3 separate regions of the Homo sapiens genome follow, and regions 2 and 3 are each linked to region 1. The links are contacts of gene promoters, found by promoter capture Hi-C in blood cells and fetal thymus (Javierre and others, 2016). All regions are on one chromosome and are shown on one strand. Each heading gives the region's core, a stretch centred on a gene start or on the middle of the fragment in contact. The rest is flanking DNA. Distances are from core to core; before and after follow the strand shown.

What was found. The method cuts DNA at HindIII sites, captures the fragments that hold promoters and counts their contacts. A CHiCAGO score of 5 or more calls a contact.
Region 2: the fragment with the promoter of C2orf76 here is called in contact with the fragment with the promoter of MARCO in region 1 in 2 of 17 cell types (M2 macrophages and M0 macrophages); the score reaches 10.9 in M2 macrophages.
Region 3: the fragment with the promoter of STEAP3 here is called in contact with the fragment with the promoter of MARCO in region 1 in 3 of 17 cell types (monocytes, M2 macrophages and M1 macrophages); the score reaches 8.5 in monocytes.

What each region holds. Positions count from the first base shown.
Region 1 is chr2:118,940,858-118,943,586 of GRCh38, forward strand. It overlaps MARCO (macrophage receptor with collagenous structure), which reads left to right and starts at 1,337. Exons shown (of 17, transcript NM_006770.4): 1 at 1,337-1,540. The coding sequence starts at 1,444. The HindIII fragment of the contact is 9,171 bases long and covers 1-1,434 here.
Region 2 is chr2:119,365,519-119,368,247 of GRCh38, forward strand. C2orf76 (chromosome 2 open reading frame 76) reads right to left here and starts at 1,316. Exons shown (of 6, transcript NM_001322331.2): 1 at 1,272-1,316. DBI (diazepam binding inhibitor, acyl-CoA binding protein) reads left to right here and starts at 1,459. Exons shown (of 4, transcript NM_001079862.4): 1 at 1,459-1,542; 2 at 2,670-2,729. The coding sequence starts at 1,534. RefSeq lists enhancers at 890-1,149, 1,520-1,849, 2,380-2,579 and a silencer at 1,270-1,419. The HindIII fragment of the contact is 12,909 bases long and covers 1-2,729 here.
Region 3 is chr2:119,222,512-119,225,240 of GRCh38, forward strand. STEAP3 (STEAP3 metalloreductase) reads left to right here and starts at 1,323. Exons shown (of 6, transcript NM_182915.3): 1 at 1,323-1,377. RefSeq lists silencers at 1,066-1,845, 1,906-1,975. The HindIII fragment of the contact is 5,957 bases long and covers 1-2,729 here.

The sequences.
Region 1 (2,729 bases), core at 87-2,586:
AAAAGTCTACGGCTCCCCTGCTCCAGGCTGTCCCACCTCTGAGAGGCTGCACCTGCCCTCCTTCCTCCCTGGAGGGCCTTTGCCTCATCTTGATCTGGATCAATCCCCCATTATCCTTTTAAGCCCAGCTCTGGTATCTGATATCTCTTGATTCAGATGATAAAGCTATTTGTCATATTTCTGCCCTGTCTCCCCTGCCTCCCGGCACTTCTGTCTTTTCAGGGACATCAACCTTTGCCGCACTTCACAGCAATTTTCTGGAATGTAGTTGTAGCCGCAACCATCTTGCATGGTAGACTGTGAATATCTTTCATGAAAAAAGGCCATTTCTTCATCTCCTCGGTGCCCAGCAGGCTCACAATGTCTCTAATGATAATAACAACAACATGACCATAGTGTTTATTACCTAATACTTCCATCCTAGCCACCTTATATGATTTAATTCATTTAAGGCTCACGAAATTCATATCTTCCTTATTTATACAAACAGAAGAGTGAGATGCTCAAAGCTCAAGTGATTTGCCTACTGCCAGACAGCCCCTATGTGGAAGAGGTGGAATTTGAAGCCAGGCATTCTAGCTCTTAGTGTCTGTGTCTTAACCACCATGCTATACAGCATCCCTGGTAGAGATGCCTGACGGGAGGGAGAGAGGGGAGAAGCTACTTTCCTTAAGGAGCTCAGATCTCACTGGGGCCTGGACAAGGACACCTGTAACACATGTACACATGTGCACACATGTGTACACACACAGAGAGAGAACATGGGAAAACTACAAGAAGAAATACTAAGTGCTAAAATGTGTGGTTCAGAGCAAGGCTTCTCAAACTGTAATGTGTATATAAATCACCTGGGGATCTAGTTAAACTGTAGATTTGGATTTGATCTGATGGGGTGGGACCAGAGACTCATTGTTAGAACAAGTGAACTTGCATTTCTAACAAGTTCTCAGGTGATACTAATACTGCTGGTCCATGGACCACACTTTGAGCAGCAAGGATGAACTCTAAAGGTTGAGGCAGGTCAGAGAAGGGAGATTTCACTGTGGGCTGGAGAGGTCCTGGGACAGAGAGCTGAGTCTGGGCCCATGGCAGGGCTTGGTTGGCCCTCTCTGGAGCCATCCAGCTTTTGGGTCTCAGGGACCTGGGAGTGACGGGTGCATTCAGAGGCCCGTAACTTGTGTCCCAAAGCCTCCTCGATCCCCCTTAACAAGCAGCAGCACTGTGTGGGAGATCCACATGTGAATAGCCCGTGTTTGAGAAATGTCCAATCCTGATCATGTCAGGAAACATCCTGCAAATTCTGAAATCAGAGCCAAAGGGAAGTGCTGCGAGGTTTACAACCAGCTGCAGTGGTTCGATGGGAAGGATCTTTCTCCAAGTGGTTCCTCTTGAGGGGAGCATTTCTGCTGGCTCCAGGACTTTGGCCATCTATAAAGCTTGGCAATGAGAAATAAGAAAATTCTCAAGGAGGACGAGCTCTTGAGTGAGACCCAACAAGCTGCTTTTCACCAAATTGCAATGGAGCCTTTCGAAATCAATGGTAAAGTACGATTCCCCAATAATGGAAATGACCAGAAATGTAGTCTTTCTGCTAGCGAGATACGAAAATAGACAAGTCAATAGAAAGTCTAGGTTTGGCTTATTGCTGCATTTTGCACGTAATCATCACTAATACTGTCTGGAGTGCTTCAATTTGGAATTTCTGGAATGCTAATAATAGATGCTGTATTTTTAGCATATAGTCAGGTTTTTCTTAGCTTCACTATTGTTTTAATCATATTTAAATATTTTCCCTTGAAAAAATGCCAATGCTTATTAAATGTCCCCTTTTTTTAATGAATGTCTTATTCTGACACACAGGTTGGGTGATACAATGAAAACGCAAAACAGGGGCACTGAAAGGGGACCACAAAACTGAAGCCAAGCATGACAGTTTTCAAAACACAGCTTCTTTAAAATTCTTTAAGGGGATTTCTGTTATAACTGATGTGCTGGTCAGGAAACATATTCTGTATTTCATGTTGACTGAAATATGTTCATAGCTTCATAATTAGTTTGTCTTAGGTTAAACTCAGGTCTGTAATATTCAGTCAACTCTGTTGTCTTTATTTTCTCACTCAGCATTCAACAGGTGATGCATTTTTAAAATCTTCTAGAATTTGTAGCATTTGAAGTCATGGGTGGGCTTGCATTCCACAAATGAGCTCTGATTTCCTAGTCTAGAACGTTCTCTTGGGATCATCTTCCAAGTTGATCAGTCATTTCCACTCCCAGGCTTTGCTGGAAGTTGTCTATGCAGGAAAATTGGTGGCTTTATCTCCTGGCCAGAGTGTCCTTCTCATCCCACACCTGTCTGCCCAGGTCCCTGCCTGGAATTTTCAGCGCACAAAGATGAAGCGTCTGGGGCTCTGCCTCTAGGAATTTACAGTGTAATAACAGAGAAAGGTGTGAGTGCTAATGGCTATAATAATCATTGGCTATTTAGAACTTCTCAGAATGCAACATTCTGGATACATGACTGTTTAAGAGACTGAAGATGTTCAAGCAAAGTCAGCTGATCAAGCATACTCAGCACCTATTTCCAGCAGGGCACTGCACTCAGCACTGAGGAAACAGGCTTGAATAAACATAGCCTCTGGCCTCTGGCTTCTGGCACGAGGGGACAGGGGACAGGGTAAGCTGCCCATGAACTGACAATTTCCATGTTGTGACTGAGACTTCCACAGGAC
Region 2 (2,729 bases), core at 66-2,565, 420 kb after region 1:
AAGTTAGCAAGTTAAGTCTGAAAGCGTCTACCTTCCCTGGGGAGGGGGAAGGTGTAGGCAGGGCAGAGATTTGTAGTCCAGCCCTCTTGCCACAAATTATGAATTAGAGAGGAATGACTTTGCTTTTTTAATGATCTCCAGAGAATTTTCCATCATTTCCCTCTCTTCACCCAGCTCCTTTGCAACCACTGCCAGAGAAGTCTTCCTTTAGCTTCTTAAACATCGATCCTAAAACACTTCCAGACACCTGTGCTGCTCCTTTCAGTTCCCATGGAGATTAGGCTGTGTAACAATCTCGCAAAGACGTTCCCCTCCGTCTCCTCATCCTCTTTTCAAACCCTTTTACGATTTCCCATCTCACTCAGCATGACAGTCAAAGTCCCTGTGATGGCCAACTTCTGCATCACCTAGCCAGTCTGCCACCGCCAAAACTCTCCAGCCTCATCTTTCTACTCTTCCCCTGGTTCCTTGCCCACGCCTTTACACTTGTTCTCTGCTTGGAATCTTCCCTCCCCTCCTTGAGGAACTTTCTCAAATGTCACCTTCCCTCAATACTCCCCCTCCTCCATTTAAAACTATAAACTTCCAACTCTCTAAGCCCCTAAAGTACTCTATATTTAACTTATTGTATAAACTACTGTCCCTACTTGTAAGTTCCAAGATTGCAGGGATTCACCCGCTTTGTTCACTGCTGTCTGCCAAGGTCTAGAACAGTGCAAGTTACCCAACAGGAGTTCAATAAACAGCCATTCATTTAACAAATATTTGCTGAGCACTTCGTCCCGTCCAAGTTTGTTAAATCAAGACAAATAAGACACCGTCCCTGCCTTTAACGCACCAGATGGAGAAATGCACCACAGACATAAATGTGCAATACAGGCCTGACACTACGGCCACAAGCAAGTCAAAGAACGTGCCAAAAGTTCAGAGGAAGAAGCCTCGGCTTCGCCTTTCGGGAGACCAGTCCAGCTTTCCACCATCACGCTGCTCATCAGGGACCATCTCCGGGGGTCTCCTCTAGACCCCAAGGGAGGAGCGGGTCCCGCCCGCCATTCCCAGGTCTCAGAGTTTACTTGTCCAGAGATGCAACTTCCGGCCTCTTCAGGCCGGGCAAGATTTAAGGAAAGAAAAGAAACATAAGGACCTCCGTTCTTCGGTCTCCGTCCCCTCCCCTTCCCCCGCGTGCCGTCCCCACAACGGGCCAGGACTGAACCCAACTCTCGACCAACTCCCGGCAGCAAAACTAAGCACCCTACTTCCGTTGTCCCCACCTGTTCCCGGCGTCCCCTTCGGCTACTCCCGGCGTTTGCGCAAGCGGTCCCACGTGGGCTCGGGCGGGGCTAGCGCCGCGGCGGGGGCTGGGCACGCCCCTAGCGCATAGCTGGCTTCTGATTGGCTTTCCGGTGCTCGCCCGAGCAGGGTTGGGGCGAGTGGACCGCGCCTCTAAAGGCGCTTGCCAGTGCAATCTGGGCGATCGCTTCCTGGTCCTCGCCTCCTCCGCTGTCTCCCTGGAGTTCTTGCAAGTCGGCCAGGATGTCTCAGGTACAGCGCGTGCACAGCCAGGCTGCGAAGGTGCAGCGGGCGGGAGGCCCGTTGGGGGCTCAGCCGGCTGCCAGAAGCTCTCGGGCTCTTTCCTTCCGTGCCCCTCACTTGCTCATGGGCCCATGCCTAGCCCTGATTCGTTGGACAGAGCCTTGTGAGCGGGATTTTCCGTTTGGGGATTTCTAAATCTGCTGCCCACCCCGCAACTGCCGGAAAGTTGCCCATGGGGTGGACTTCGCTGTGTAGCGGGAGAGGGGTGGGAGTCGAGGGTGCTTGATGGAGAGATGGGGGAAGGGGTTGCACGGATTGGAGGAGCGAGGAGACTCAGTCCCCATCCCGAAGCACAGGGCAGGACGTCGCGGCGGAGTGGGGAAGCGAGGAGTCCGTGGCCGAGAGCTTGGAGGTCAGGGGAAGTACGGGGCCGGCTGCTCAGAGTGCGGGACGAGGAGAATCGCGGCCCGGGGAGAGGTGACCCAGGGGCCCCTCCCTTCTCTCCAGTGTAGACCCTTGTCTGAGACCGAGCTATGTGGGGCGACCTCTGGCTCCTCCCGCCTGCCTCTGCCAATCCGGGCACTGGGACAGAGGTCGGTGTTGAACGCGCGGGCCCCAGGGGGAGGGAGGGGACCAACGGGCTCCGGCGCTGACACCGCGGCACTCATGCCCTGTCCCCTTTCAGCTGTTTCCAGCATACTGTGCCCCGTCTGTCCTCAGGCCAGGGCTTCGCTGCAGCCCCGGCCACTCCCTAGTGCCTGGCCCGGTGGTGGCCAGGCAGTTGGCCGCGCTGCTTCTCCCGCAGAGGGGACCCCCACTGGGGGCGAAGGCTTGGCCTGCCCTCTTCACTGCTGTATTTCCAGACCTGATGCCTGCGTTTGTGAGAGCTCTGGATATATGGTTTTCGATTGAATGAGTGAACTGGAGGGGCTTCCCCTTCTTGTGTTGCTGAATCTTTCTAGCTGCCCTGTTGGGGCAGGGAGGGGCAGACACACTTCAGGGGCTGCATTGCCCGAAGGGTGCCACCTTTCCCACCTCTCCATCCCCGTAACTGGGCTGTCATCAGGCCACAGTAGGATTCTTACCCTCTCCCACCCAGAGGAGGCCCTCAATCCTCTCCTCTCCCTTCCATTTAGGCTGAGTTTGAGAAAGCTGCAGAGGAGGTTAGGCACCTTAAGACCAAGCCATCGGATGAG
Region 3 (2,729 bases), core at 73-2,572, 280 kb after region 1:
GGAAAGTTCTTGCAAGAGAAGAGAGGCTCTGGCCTTGGGCCCTGGCTGAGCAGAGAGCTGGGAGGTGGGTATTCGGGTAGGAGGAAAGCTGTGGAGGGGGAAAGCAAACTGCCTGCGGGGGTGGGGGGGTTCTCGGCGGGAGTTGGGGGTGGAGGGAAAGGCGCTTTACAGCAGCACTCCCTCCACAGGGAGACCAGAGCTCTGCCTCTTCCTCCCCACCGTGCCCTTTGGGGTCCAGTTGTGGGGCCTTCCTTGAGGCCCAGCTCCTGCCTCTGGCCTCCGGAGGCTTATCTCCCCAACAGAGGCTGGCTCCCCAGAAAACAGGATTCTTAGACTTCCTAAAAATAACCTGAAGCTCCTTATCAGAGGCTAATAGTGTATGTCTCCCAGGAATACTCTAGAAAGAGTACCAGGGGTCAGGAACCCCCACTCAGCCTCCACGAATCTGAGCGGAAAAGCCCGGGTCTCCTCACCTGTAAAGAAAATAACTGCAGCCGGCAAATGTGACCACAGGTGAGAAGGGGCTTCGGACCAGGGCGCACACCTCTAGAGAGGTGCCCACAGACAGCCTCCCCTTACTTACGCCCTGCTTCGCTGCAGTGCTGTGAAGCCATCGGCATTGGAAGTGCGGAGGGCAGCGGGCAGTGCCCCAGGGGGAAGGGGGGACGGGTAGGGTTTCAGAGCCCAGAAGGCCTAGACAGGGAGGCAGCTCCGGGAGAAAGGTACCCGCCATCCCACCGGTCTTGGAACCTGAGGACTGCTGGGAAGGGTCAAAAGTCTGCCCTAAGGGTGGACAAGGGACAGAGATTGGGGGGGGACCACAAAGGCCTGGGCGCAACCTTGTTGAGAGGGAAGGGATCCGGACCCAATCTGGAGCCCTGGTCTCTTCCCACCTGCAACCGTGGCTGCCACTTGGCCTCGGTTATAAAATGGACAAGGATTCGAGGTGCTCCTCAGGTTAAGAGAGGGGGGCCTAGAGGTCACCCTGGCCTCGGTGCCCTCCGTGGCCGGGTTAAGAGGAGGTCCCGGAGTTCTGCTCACTTCAGCCGTGTGCCGGGCACTGCAAATCAGGAAGTGTTGGCGCCGGCTGGCGACCTCCCGCCTGGGGCCAGGGGAGGAGGGTGGTTGGACGCTGCCACCGCTGCCGGGGCTGTGCAGGGCTGGGCGGGGAGCGAGGACCCGGCGGCTCCTGATTGCGGCCCCGGGGGAGGTGGCCGAGCCGGATAAGCTGCGGCGGGCTGGAGGGCGGCCACCTCCCCTGCAGGTCCGGCCCTCCCGGGCGGGTGGGGCGCGGGGGAGGAGGAGCCTCGGGCCGAGCCACCGCCTTCGCCGCGGACCTTCAGCTGCCGCGGTCGCTCCGAGCGGCGGGCCGCAGAGGTGAGTGTACCCTCCCCCGGTCTCCGCGGGGCTGCGTGCTGCGCCCGGTCCCCGAGACGCCCGCCCGGTTGCACCCTGCGCCGTCGCTGCGCGGACCTCGGGTGCCGCCACACGTCTGGAGGCGACTTCTGTCCCCTGGGACCGAGCCACGTGCGCCCGGCGGCAGAGAAACCGGGTTCCGGGGCCCCCACCCCGTGTGCCTTCCTTCCCTAGGCGTGGAAGCCGCTTGCGCCGCGCAGGTTAGGCAGGGCCGGCGGCGACAGTGGCGGGGAGCAGGCTCCGGAGCCCCGGGTGCAGATGTGGGCGCCCCTCCGGATGACCCCGGCTGAGTCCACAGGTCCCGTGTGCCCCACGGCTGGGGCTCTGGCCAGCGGTCCCAAAGGAGGGCTGGTAGCTGTGGGCGGGGATCTTCCAGGCTCTTCCTCGCCAGACCTCCCAGTCCCTTCGCAGCCGAACAGGGCAGGGACAGGGGCAGGTGCAGGGGCTGGGCAGGGGCGCCCGACCTTGGTCCCCAGGAGGAGGCTGGCCTCACCAGTGCCCGCCTCTGCCCGCGGAGCCCTTGCCTGGCAAAGTTCCCCCTCCTGCCCGGCAAAGCTCCCCCTCCTGCCCACTTCCCCGAAATTTGGGGACAGGCTGCCCGGAGAGGTGTGGTTGGAACTTTGGTCACTCTGGGTAAATGAAGGGGAGGGTGTGCCCAGATAATATGCGGTTTGGGGACCAGAAAGCCGGATCCGTGGGGAGAAGCAGGAAGGTCCCGCTGGAGCCCTGGCAGAGGGCACAGAGAGGCCTCCCAAATATCCAGGGCCACCTCAGAGATGGGCTCCAGAAGTGGGGATTCTGGAAATGCCCCCAGGGAGGTATTTCTGTCCATCAGAGTGCAGCCATAATATAATTAACAGCAGATATTCCCATTTATGTGTGCCAGGCATCTTGCTAAGGGCTTTGAGCACAATATCCCAGTTAATCCTCACAACAGGAAGGCACCATTATCTCTTGTTAAAAATGGGGAAACAGCCTCAGAGAGTCCACGTATTTTGCAAGGATACACAGCTAGGAAGTTGCAGAAGTAGAATTTGAACCCAGAGTTATCTGACTTGGAGCCCAGAGGAACCTACCACTGGGGCGAAACAGGCTGTGTCCTCACGGGGATTCTGGCAGCCCCAAGAATACAGTGCTGAGAGCCAGAAGGTCCACAAAACCAAAGGGTCTCACCTGGGTGTGTCCTCTCAGTCACCTGCAAGGCTTGTTAAAAATATAGATCCCCAAGTCCCATCCGAAGCTGACTGAATCAGCTAGGGGCACCTGGAGGACCCAGACTATGTCTTACTCATCTCTGTCCCTGGTGGCCTGCA